Regions from separate parts of the Homo sapiens genome. Here all the other regions are linked to region 2. The links are contacts of gene promoters, found by promoter capture Hi-C in blood cells and fetal thymus (Javierre and others, 2016). All regions are on one chromosome and are shown on one strand. Each heading gives the region's core, a stretch centred on a gene start or on the middle of the fragment in contact. The rest is flanking DNA. Distances are from core to core; before and after follow the strand shown.

Region 1 (2,700 bases), core at 1-2,500, 600 kb before region 2:
AGGTCAAGGGAGCTGTTCACCGAGGCACGAAGTATGTCACAATATATTTAGCAAATGATAACACAATTCCCATTCAGTAATCGGTGGCCGTCCCCGCACCGTGTCTCACTGCGGTCGTCTATTGGACTTAGAAAAATAGATCCACTCGCTTCAGACAACCTCAGGATCTCCAAACTGAAGACACAAGTGACATGACCGAAACAGGGTCCCCTCAATAAGATTTCCCAGATACTGAGGACCTCAGTCTCCTCACCACCACGATTCCTGCACACCGATGCATTCCTTTAAAAGGTCTCTGGCTCTAGCGAAGAGTTACCCTCAAAATTCTCATTTGTAGCAATAGGGTTTTTGTTTCCCTTTTTTTTTTAAGAAAAAAAATGGGGGGCCTAGAAAAAAAGCTTACAAGGTGAGAGGAAGAAAGTAGGGGGTTATAATGCGAAAAAGAGGAAGGACAGGAGTAGGGGGAAGGGAGCAAAAGCCAGAAAGAGGTAAAAGCCAAGGAACTGGGGATGAAGAGAATGAGATTTCCGACCAGAGGGCAAGGAAGCAGGGGATGATGAAAGGGGCAGAGAAGAGGCGACCGCAGCGCGGGGAGCCGGTGGAGCCTGCAGCGGTTTCCGCGGATGTGGAAGGGTCGTGGCGGCGGGCGCGGCCCGCGCGCCGGGCTCACCTCGGCGGGCGCGGACGGCGGGCGGCTGCGGAGAGCGGGGGCGGGTGTCCCCCGCCGAGGGGTCGCGGTCATGGACGCGGTGGCGGCCCAAGCGGCCCGAGGCGCTGCGCGAGCGGGCGCGCTGGCGCCCTACTCCCCTCGCGGCTGCCTGCGGACAGAGGGACGGCGGGGACTCAGAGGCCGGACCTGTCACCCGGGCGGGTCCCGGGGAGGCGGGCGGATGCCCCGCGCCCCCGCCTCCTCCCCGGGGCCTACCGCGCCCTCGTCCCTCAGGCCGCTGCCGCCTCCCCGGGCCACGCGACGACGACACCCCCTTCCCCGCCCCCAGCGCCTCCCCTGGCCCGGCTCCGCTGCCGCTCTGGGGCCTGCGACCGCGGAGCCGGAGGTTACCTCGGGCTGGCCGGGCCCCAGCCGGGGCTTTGGGAGTCAGAGGAGCCGGAAGAATGCATGGCCGGCGGCGGGGCCGGCGGAAGAAGGCGGTGGCGGGGCCCTGCCCCGCTCCGGCTGTGGCGCGGCCCGCGCCCGTTCCCCGGCGGCGCCGAGACTCGGTCCCCAAGGGCCCGGCCGCGTTCGCCCGGACTGGCGGGGAGGGGCGGCGGGAGGAAGCGGCGGGAGTCGGGACTGCGGCGGAGCCGCTCCCACAGCGCCCTCTAATGAAAGCGCCGCCGCCGCTGCCTGGCCCGCTTGCCCCGCCTGGCCCGCTCCCCCTACCCCTGCGCCAGCGAGTCGGGGCCCTCGGGGCTACCTGGACGCTCGGCCAGGACCTCAGTGAGTCCAGAACATACTGAGGGAAAGGGCCGCTCGGAAAGATCTAGGAATGAACACCCATCCTCACACCCCAGGAGTGCCTTGGTTTCAGTTGAGAGCCCCCTTTCAGCCAACACGGCCGCCTTTCATTGTTAGGGCTCTCTTCTCTGCCCAAACTAGGAACCTGTCTCCTTGACGGCTAAATGTCCACTTTTCATTCTTAATGAAACCCGGTTGCACTCATGGCTTTTCTTCTTAACCTCTGCAGTGTATTATTGTCTAGAGTTTCAAATTCATTCTTTTTACGGTCAAAAGTCTTGTTTCAGGAAAGCAGCTGGAACATTAATGGCAATTCCACTTTCCCATTCATCGCCCCCGCCCCCACCACCCCACCAAGAAACTCAGTGGGAATGAATGGTCTACACAGAGAAACTGAAATCTGGTTAGTCAAGAAGGAAAAAACAACCAAGTGCCTGGCATTAAGTAAGTACTCACCCGCCCGCCCTCCCCCGCCCGCCATAAAAAGAAAAACCGAAAAGACAAAAAACAGTGGCCATGGGAACTCCTAGACAGACCCCGTCACTTGGGATACTATAGCTGCATTCTGGTTCAAAGGCTGGACCACCTGAAGGAAAATAGAGAAATAGTCCATTGACCTACCCCCTTGAGCATTCTTAAATGATCTGCCTAAATTTTAGTTTTTAAAAATCCTGTTTATAAAACCTTATGTCCCTTAAGCACATTTGTAAATGGAGGGGATGGGGCAGGGCAGATTTCACACTCCCTAGGGAACTGCCATATTTGAATCAGAATGCCACCTATTCTGCCTATTTTGAAAATGTTCATCACAGCGTTTGCTCTGGACTCTCAACTTTCTCTAATTTCAGTTCCTCTTAGGTCCACAGGTGAAGGAAAGATATGCCCCATTCTATTCCTTGCATTCTCTCTTTATTGACAAGGTAGTAAGATCTTTAAATAAATCTCATGAGAGAGATAATATATATACTTTATTATTCAAAATATGTCATTATATTCTTCAGTAAGATAGGTGAGGTACATATTTATTTCCACAATCAAGAATAAACTCTAAGGATTCCATCTGGTCCATGCAATTCAGCTTTCCCACATGCTGCGTAAACGTTGGCTGACACCTGGAGAGAGATAACCTACAATGGGATTTACACGTGATTCCTGGATCAGGGACCATCTGCCAGAGGACCAGACACAGCAGCACTTGATGAAATGCAATTAGTACCAGGCCCAGAATTCATTTTCAGGCTCAG
Region 2 (2,707 bases), core at 167-2,666:
GAAATGGAGTAGTTTCTAATGAACTATTTTAACTACTATGCTCTGCGACTTGCCCTGATTCTTTGCCGTGGACGTCTAAGAACCTGCTCTTGGGTCTGGAATGAGACCCTTTTTCTGTTAATTCCTCTATTCCAGTCTTGAAAGTAAAAGCCAGTCTTGAAAATAACCTGTGAAGCCCCCAAGATCCACCCCCACTCCCTTACCCGCTTCCTTCCTGACTTCACCTACCCCTCTTACCTTCCCTTGATCCTCCAGCAAGCCGGGCATCCTCATTCCTCCGCATTTATGCACCTGATCCTTTGACCAAAGTGCTCTTCCCTCTAGACCGCCTCCTTCGCCTCCTGTAGATTTTTATGCAAATACCCTGTTCTCAGTGAGGCCTTCCCTAACCTGCCTATTTAAAATGACCATCCCCATAACCGGGCACCGTTCCTCACACCTGTAATCCCAGCACTTTGGGTGGATGAGGTGGATGGTTCACTTGAGGCCAGGAGTTCGAGACCAGCCTGGCCAGCATATAGTGAAACCTCATCTCGACTAAAAATTAAAAAAAAAAAAAATTAGCCAGGCGTGGTGGTGGGTGCCTGTAATCCCAACTACTCTGGTGGCTGAGGCAGGAGAATCACTTGAACCCGGAAGGTGGAGGTTGCAGTGGGCCGAGATGGCGCCACTGCACTCCAGCGTAGGCGACAGACTCCGTCTCAAAAATAAATAAATACATAACAATAAAATAAAATAAAATGTCCATCCCAGTGCTCCCTATCTCTTTGCCCTACTTTTTCTCCCTAGTATTTACCACCATCTAACATACTACTTAGCATCTTATTGTCTATCTGCCCACACAATGTAAGCTTCACGTGGGCGTGGATCTGTCTTGTTCAGTGGTGAGTCCCCAGTGACCTGGTACATGGAGGTACTCAAAAATATTTGTTGCATAAAGTAATGAGCAAAGTTTGGCACAAATGTTAGCTATTATTATTTCAGGGCGTATCGGTAACAGCACCCTACCCTTTGCAAAAATCTCCTTGGGAACCAGAAACTTAAACACAACCAGGAAGAAAAAAAATCAGCCAAAAATAAAAGCGAATTAAGACAGTTGGGGTCTTATTTTAGAAATATACCTTTCTAGGTTCTGGTATGTTGGGCTCTGTCATCTTTCTACCTGATCAAGGAACCACTGTGACATTTTTTGGTAACTTCCAGTCTGTAGTTTGGATTTAGGAGTTCAGGATTCCAATCCTAATTTCCAGGTTCCAGCTGCGTGGCCCGAGTAGCCCGGCCAGCCCCACCCCGGGGCGCAGGAGGCGCGCGAAGGGCGGGAGTTCTCGGGTCCCCGCCCTCGGGGAGGCTCTGGGCGCGGGGCGGGACTCCGGGACGCTGGGCGGGCGTGCTAGGGCCCCGCCGCCCTGGCCCGGCCTTGCCTTGCGCTGCGCGCTCACCATGGTGGGCCCCGCGCCGCGGCGGCGGCTGCGGCCGCTGGCAGCGCTGGCCCTGGTCCTGGCGCTGGCCCCGGGGCTGCCCACAGCCCGGGCCGGGCAGACACCGCGCCCTGCCGAGCGGGGGCCCCCAGTGCGGCTTTTCACCGAGGAGGAGCTGGCCCGCTATGGCGGGGAGGAGGTAGGCGGGGGTGTCGCGGGCCGAGGGACCCGGGGTGGCGTCCGATCTGCGGCGAGCCGAGCGGGGACCCAGGAGGCGCCGGCGGCCCAGGAAGCTCTGGGGGACGCGCGGCCCGCGGCGGGCGCCCTGGGCCGGCGGGGGGCCTCCTCTCTCTAGGCCCCGAAGGATGGCCGAGGGGTGAGGACGAGTCCTCAACAGTCGGAGCGCTCCGCTTTGCCCGCACACCCCACCCTGAACTTCTCCCTCGGTCCCCGGGAGATTTCCCCTCTAGCCGCCTTTTCGTTGATGATCTGCGTACAGACCTCAGAACTTTTTGGTTTTCATGTTAGCATCAGCCGAGGCGTTTACTGTGCCCACGCATAGTGGGGAGTGGCGGGGGACGGAGGGAGGGAAGCAGAGCCTGCTCCCTGGGTTAGGTGGGAATTGAGACAGGTCCTGGGATAAGCCAGTCTTTGCCTGCACTTCCTTTTCCTGCCCCTGTATCCCAGGCCTCTGCATCGGACTCCTCAAACCCACTTTTAGGTCATGTACCCCTGGGGCTCAGCCAAAGCTGGAAGTGAGCGCAGAGGGTGGACTGGAGGTTAGAGACCCCCACAACCCCCCCGCCACACGTCAATAGAGACCCCCCCGCCCACACACACCCACACACGTCAATAGTCTAGAGGCGTCCAGAAAACTCACAACCACCTGCCCACCTGGGTTGGTTGGGACTGGAGCCGCACGACAAGGACCAACAGGGGGCTGATATTAGATGTGGAGCGGGGGAACGGCATTGGGGGGAGGTCATAGTACCATAGTATTTCAGAGCTGGCAGGAACCCATCTCCTGCTTTTACACATAAGGAAACTGAGGCCTGCCACCTGTTAGTGGTAGAGCAGGAAGAGGCCTGATGTTTTTCAAAACCCTCTGGCCTGGTCTCGCTAATTCCTGAGTTAATTGGCCTTATATGGACTAGGATTGCATGGGGGTATCAGAAACCTGGCCCTTAGTCAGTGATGCCAGTTTGGGCATCATTTGTGAAGGGGCCATTTAGAACCATGAGTCAGTGAGGACACCGAGGGAGGGAGACATGGCTGGGATGTGAGGATGT
Region 3 (2,734 bases), core at 122-2,621, 850 kb before region 2:
GCTCCTTGCACCCGACTGAGGGGGTTCTGATTTCCTGGAGCAGCAGCGGGGCGTGTGCAGGACGGGGAGGGAGCAGGCAGGGGCGGCGCGGCGCAGGCCCGCTCGGGCAGCAGGGGGCGTGCGGGCCACCCCGCCGAAGGCCAGGCGAGGCTCTGGGCACCCCAAACCCAACCACCTGCGGCAGCGACTTTCCCGGCTCACCTGCGGGGTCCAATTTCAGCCCGTTGGAGTTGCTGGTATTGGCCACCAGGGTGTTGGTCTCCTCCTGGTCGGGACCCTGCTCGCCCGGGGCCACGTTGATGTCGCTGCTCCCGGGGCGGGTGCTCTTAACGCGAGGCCCCTTGGGGAGGCCGTGGCCGTGGCCGTGACCCCCGTGCGAGTGGCCGTGGCCGGAGTCCTGGCTGAAGCCGCTGTGATGGTGGAAGAGGCAGAGCCCCAGCACGTTGACCAGCAGCCCGGCCACGCCGACCCCAAGGACCACCAGCGGCTGCTGCATCTCGTGCGGCTCGATGAAGCGCTCGATGGCCTCCAGCAGGATGGCGAAACAGAGGCCAGTCAGGAAGATGGCGTTCACCAGAGCCCCCATTACCTCGGCTCGGATCCAGCCGAACGTGTTCTTCTGGGTGGCGTGGGTCCGCCGGGCGAAGCGCTCGGCCACCAGCGCCACCACCAGCGCCAGCACGTCCGACAGCATGTGGAAGGAGTCGGAGAGCATCGCCAGCGACGAGGTCACCCGGCTCACCACCACCTCCAGCACCATGAACATGAAGGTCAGCGCCAGCATGCACAGCAGCCGGCCCCGGTTCCGACCCCAACACCCCATGGCTGCGGCTGCGGGGCCCGCCGAGCCCGGCCCGGAGACTGGTGCAGCGGCGGCGTTGGCGGGACGCGGAGGGTCGGCGACCGCGACACGGAGGAGCGCCCGAGTCGGGCCGTTCGGGAAACCGCTGAGGGGCCCCCGCGGCCGCACGGGGACAAGCCCGGGTCAAGCCGCCGAGCCCCGCGCCTGTGGGCGTTCTCCGCCAGCCGGCGGCGCCGCGCCGCGCAGCTCCTCAGGCGTCCGTCCTCAGAGCCGGCGCCGAGGCCCGGCTCAGCCTCAGCAGCCCCCACACCCAGGCGGCGGCGGTGGCGGGGAGCTGGGCTCCCGGAGCCGGGGTACCAAGAGCCGCAGCCGGAGCAGGAGCAGGAGGGCGGCGGGCGAGGGCGGCAGGAGAGGGCGACGGGCAGCTTCGCGCCGAGAAAGCTCCGAGCATCTGAGGGCTCTGCTTGCTGGTCTCCTCTGCGGCGGCTGGACTGAGGAGCGGATGGCTGAGGAGCTAGAGAGGCGGCGGCCACGGCAGCTGCACTCGGCCCGGTCTCGGGCGCCTTCTTCGCCCCCCCGCCTTTGCAGACGGTTTACAAAAAAACTTTGCTTTGCACTCGGAACCCCCGTTTTCACACGGACCCGAGCGTGACAAGGCCTTGCCGCCCCGCCCACCAGGCCCGGCACGCTTCCCCATTGGTCAGGACCCCCTCACGACAGCCTCGGCGTCCCGCCCAGCCACGCTCACTATTGGATGGAGCCTCGGAGGGGCGGGAAGGGGGCGGGGTCGCGGCTCCAACAGATAGGGGCGGGGCCTTTTCCTCCCGGAGCCGGGCGTGGGCCGGGGGGCCGTGGCCGGGTGCAGCGGCGGGCGAATTGGGGGCGCGGGCCGCGTGCAGCGGGAGGGGGAGGGGCTGGCCGGGTCCCCTCGGGTGTGGCGGAGTCCTGGCCTGCGGACCATCGCAACTCCCAGCACACCTGCGGGGGCCGGGCTGCAAAGTCTGCAAACAGACTTTGATCCTCCGAGCCCAGTCCACGTGGGGGCGGGCCGCGCGGCGGCTGTGTGACAGCTCGGCGGCGGGGGAGGGGCCGGAGGGGAGCCCCTGAGCGCGGGGCCCTCGAGTACTCGGTCCTGTCGGAGGAGGCCGACAGACGCATAAACAAGTGCGACTGTAACTTGGGACTCTGCTGGACGCCGAGCTGAGGAGTTAGTCCTCCCGAAGGTCTGCTAGGGGCGTGGACCGAATCTTTGTACATGTTTTGGGAAAGCCAGTTTCTCCTATCACCATCAACCCCTGGAGACCTTGTGTGAACTCAGGTGTCTGTCACTGATTATCTAAGGACAGTTCAGGGTACAGACTTCAGGCAGGAGAAACCTGGGCTCTGCTCCTTGCCTTGTCAATAGCCAGCTGTGTGGCTTTGAGCAAGTCACCTAATCTCTCTAGACCTGTTTCCCCATCTATAAAGGACTGGACAAATGCAACTCTGAAGATCCCCGTCTGACTCCAAAATTCTAAGGCTCTATGATTTAACATTTATTTATAGACTACACACGGTGGAATCTTGTGCTGGTTGCTATGGGGAGGTGGAGGGGCAGTAAGAATACAAAGGAACGAGTTTCTGTCCAGGTGGAGGTAAAATATAAACACGACATTTTAAAATTACGATGGAATACTCTTGATAAATTGTGCTATTTTAGACTGAATACATAAGCACTGTGTTGTGGGTGGAGATGAGTTGATCTGGAAAGGAACAGCTTGCCCATCTAAGGTGGGGTGGTGGCTGGAATCAGAGTGGCTTAAGCTGGACCTGAAAGGCCTCACCACAGCCCCTGCGCAGCAGAAGGACCTCCCCACCCACTGCCCTAGATTACTACTGGACAAATGCAGTGCCAGCTATTGCCTGGAGATGTGTATACAAGGCTTGTTTGGA
Region 4 (2,700 bases), core at 154-2,653, 560 kb after region 2:
TTTACATTCTTTGAAAAACAATACAAATTGGAAAGAAAATTAGTATGTGATCAAAGAGAGTCAGAGCTCAAGTCTGAACTTTGCCAATAAAGGCAGATGATCTGAAGAGTTATTTTCGTTTGGAAGTCCATTAACAGTCCATAAGTCTTGTTCTGTAAGAAGTGACAGTCTAGCTAGAAGTTTCAAGCCACCAACCAAAGCAACTTCAGCTCCTACATTAAAGAAGCACACACATATTTAGTAAAATTGTCAACGGGTTATTGTAAATTAATCATACAAGTCTTTTCTCCAAACAAATATAGAACTTGAGGCCCCTCCAGAAGACTAAAAACTATGACACAGTTTTTAGAATATCTAAGCTTTATTGAATTATAACCTAATTATAATTATCAAACACACAGCAGTTTGAGATATTTTTTCTATTTCCAGCTCTGTAAACAATCTTTAGAAGAAAATATAAATGAAATACTTAAGAATGTTAAGGGTAATTTGTGGTTGACAACTACATAAGAAACTCATCCAGCAACCATTCTGTAGTTGCATAAAGCCAGAGACACCGGGCCACAGCCCTGTAGCAGTTTATAAGGTGAATGGAGAATAAATTAGTATAATTTAGTCCCAGATAGTCAGCACCCACAGAAGTGAAGATGACATGCTCTTTTTGAAATGCTGATCCATAACACTCTCCTGCCACCAAGTGAACTTCTGTCAGCATGACAACTACGAAAACCTTACTATAAATTCAAAGCAGCAGGCATATTTTTTGTAGAGTAGATCTAGTGGCAGGAATAAGTCATCTCGTGAGTGTTACTAATAAGGTTATTCCCAGAAGAAAGGAGGGGGGAACAAACAGAGGGGAAAAGGGTAAAGAAAAAGAAGCATCCAAAAAAATGGAAGAGAAAAAAATGAAAAAAATCAGAAAAGAATAAAACAGCTGCTCACATTCCAAAGTTTTCTTAAAGGTATTTTTGTACTTCCAGTAATCTTAAACTGCATTTTCTTCTCCACTTTAAATCCTTTGGCTAATGTTTAAAACCTGATTTTCGGCCGGGCACAGTGGCTCACGCCTGTAATCCCAGCACTTTGGGAGGCCGAGGCAGGCAGATCATGAGGTCAGGAGATCGAGACCATCCTGGCCAACACGGTGAAATCCCGTCTCTACTAAAAATACAAAAAATTAGCCGGGCATGGTGGCGGGCGCCTGTAGTCCCAGTGGCTCGGGAGGCTGAGGCAGGAGAATGGTGTGAACCTGGGAGGCGGAGCTTGCAGTGAGCTGAGATAGCGCCACTGCACTCCAGCCTGGGCGACGAGCGAGACTCCGTCTCAAAAACAAACAAACAAAAAAATTATATAGACTTTTCTGACCGAATGTGGTGGCTCATGCCTGTAATCCAAGCCACCCTGGGAGGCCGAGGTGGACGGCTTGAGCCCAGGAGTTTGAGACCAGCCTGGGCAACACGGTGAAACCCTGTCTCTACAAAAAATACAAAAATTAGGTGGGCATGGTGGCTCATGCCTGTAGTCTTAGCTACTCGGGAAGCTGAGGTGGGAAGGTCACTTGAACCCGGGAGACAGAGGTTGCAGTAAGCCGAGAATCATGCCACTGCACTCTAGCCTGGGTAACAGAGCGAGACTCTGTATCCAAAAAAAAAAAAAAAAAATATATATATATATATATATATATATATATACTTTTCCTCCTCAGAAAAATCCAATATTCCAGAGTCAACATGACAGCATAAGCTGTGTTGCTGGCAGTGTAACTATGGTCCTCCAATGAAGGCAGGACGCCTCGGTAAAATTTAAGCACAAAACTATGATGACCATTAACAACATACTCAGTTCCTGTCACAGGAAAAACAGTAAATTTATGGCAAGCAAAAAGAAAGGGCAATATGAAAGACCTATAACTCAGAGGCTGACTGGAACTGGAGGGTAGGACTGCTAATGTAATTCTTGGGTAATAATTTGCTTGGATGTGTTTTATTGCCTCCCTCATATGCAAGTAATCAACTGATTTATTCAAATATATTACCAATCTGTCTATTTCGAAATATTTTTACCTTCTAGATCTAGAACTTCAACTGGATGTTTAGAGAGCTTTCTTAACTTTAACCTTGAGGTTTTAGCTACTGTGCTCTCTAGGAGAATTTAAGATTACATGCATTCCTTACCTGGGTGCCCAGCAACATCTTCCTTTTCTGCAGAGTAGAAAATATAATCCACAGTTATGGCACTTCGGGAATGACAGGTGGTCACTTCTGGAATTCCAGTGTCAGGAAAGTAATGTGAATAAACAGATGACAAACTGAAATGGTGCTGTAAATTTGAAGACAATCTAAATAGAAAAGAAGAAGTGTTTAGAATCCGAGTTTTTGTAACTTCAAGAATTCCTCCTATCTGAATTTCTTTTTCACTTAATTTCTAGACTAAGACCAAACATTAGGACAAGCTTTATTTAAAAAGACCATATCATAATTTAGTATTAATTTACTTATGCAGTGATATCTAAAACCCATCAATAAAGCCATTATAAATGTGGTTTTTAAAAAAAGCTCAATAATTAACATACTAATGTGTTTTTTCATTATTTATAACGTGTGAATGCCTCCACTTACTAAAGAACATGTATTCTAACAAGTTTTATTGTGTTTTTAAGAAAGAGAATCAAGGGGGTCTTCAGGAACACTATTTGGAATC

The links. The method cuts DNA at HindIII sites, captures the fragments that hold promoters and counts their contacts. A CHiCAGO score of 5 or more calls a contact.
Region 1: a contact is called between the fragment with the promoter of LPGAT1 here and the fragment with the promoter of NENF in region 2, in 1 of 17 cell types (naive CD8 T cells). The highest score is 5.2, in naive CD8 T cells.
Region 3: the fragment with the promoter of SLC30A1 here is called in contact with the fragment with the promoter of NENF in region 2 in 1 of 17 cell types (total B cells); the score reaches 6.0 in total B cells.
Region 4: a fragment that was not itself captured here is called in contact with the fragment with the promoter of NENF in region 2 in 1 of 17 cell types (naive B cells); the score reaches 6.8 in naive B cells.

Annotation. Positions count from the first base shown.
Region 1 is chr1:211,829,513-211,832,212 of GRCh38, forward strand. LPGAT1 (lysophosphatidylglycerol acyltransferase 1) reads right to left here and starts at 1,251. Exons shown (of 8, transcript NM_014873.3): 1 at 1,061-1,251. LPGAT1-AS1 (LPGAT1 antisense RNA 1) reads left to right here and starts at 1,449. Exons shown (of 6, transcript NR_135820.1): 1 at 1,449-1,528; 2 at 1,744-1,900. RefSeq lists a silencer at 676-1,435. The HindIII fragment of the contact is 5,763 bases long and covers 397-2,700 here.
Region 2 is chr1:212,431,504-212,434,210 of GRCh38, forward strand. NENF (neudesin neurotrophic factor) reads left to right here and starts at 1,417. Exons shown (of 4, transcript NM_013349.5): 1 at 1,417-1,617. The coding sequence starts at 1,441. LOC105372906 (a long non-coding RNA gene) reads right to left here and starts at 1,314. Exons shown (of 3, transcript XR_922577.4): 1 at 1,122-1,314; 2 at 238-341. RefSeq lists a silencer at 1,203-1,762 and an enhancer at 1,923-2,012. The HindIII fragment of the contact is 20,197 bases long and covers 850-2,707 here.
Region 3 is chr1:211,577,790-211,580,523 of GRCh38, forward strand. It overlaps SLC30A1 (solute carrier family 30 member 1), which reads right to left and starts at 1,372. Exons shown (of 2, transcript NM_021194.3): 1 at 202-1,372. The coding sequence starts at 823. RefSeq lists silencers at 2-351, 852-1,161, 1,402-1,961 and enhancers at 462-571, 544-1,045, 1,046-1,545. The HindIII fragment of the contact is 24,351 bases long and covers 1-2,734 here.
Region 4 is chr1:212,994,981-212,997,680 of GRCh38, forward strand. ANGEL2 (angel homolog 2) reads right to left here. Exons shown (of 9, transcript NM_144567.5): 8 at 2,175-2,338; 9 at 1-212. The coding sequence ends at 61. Among named protein-coding and RNA genes, the nearest start is that of ANGEL2, 20 kb to the right of the region's middle. The HindIII fragment of the contact is 2,093 bases long and covers 358-2,450 here.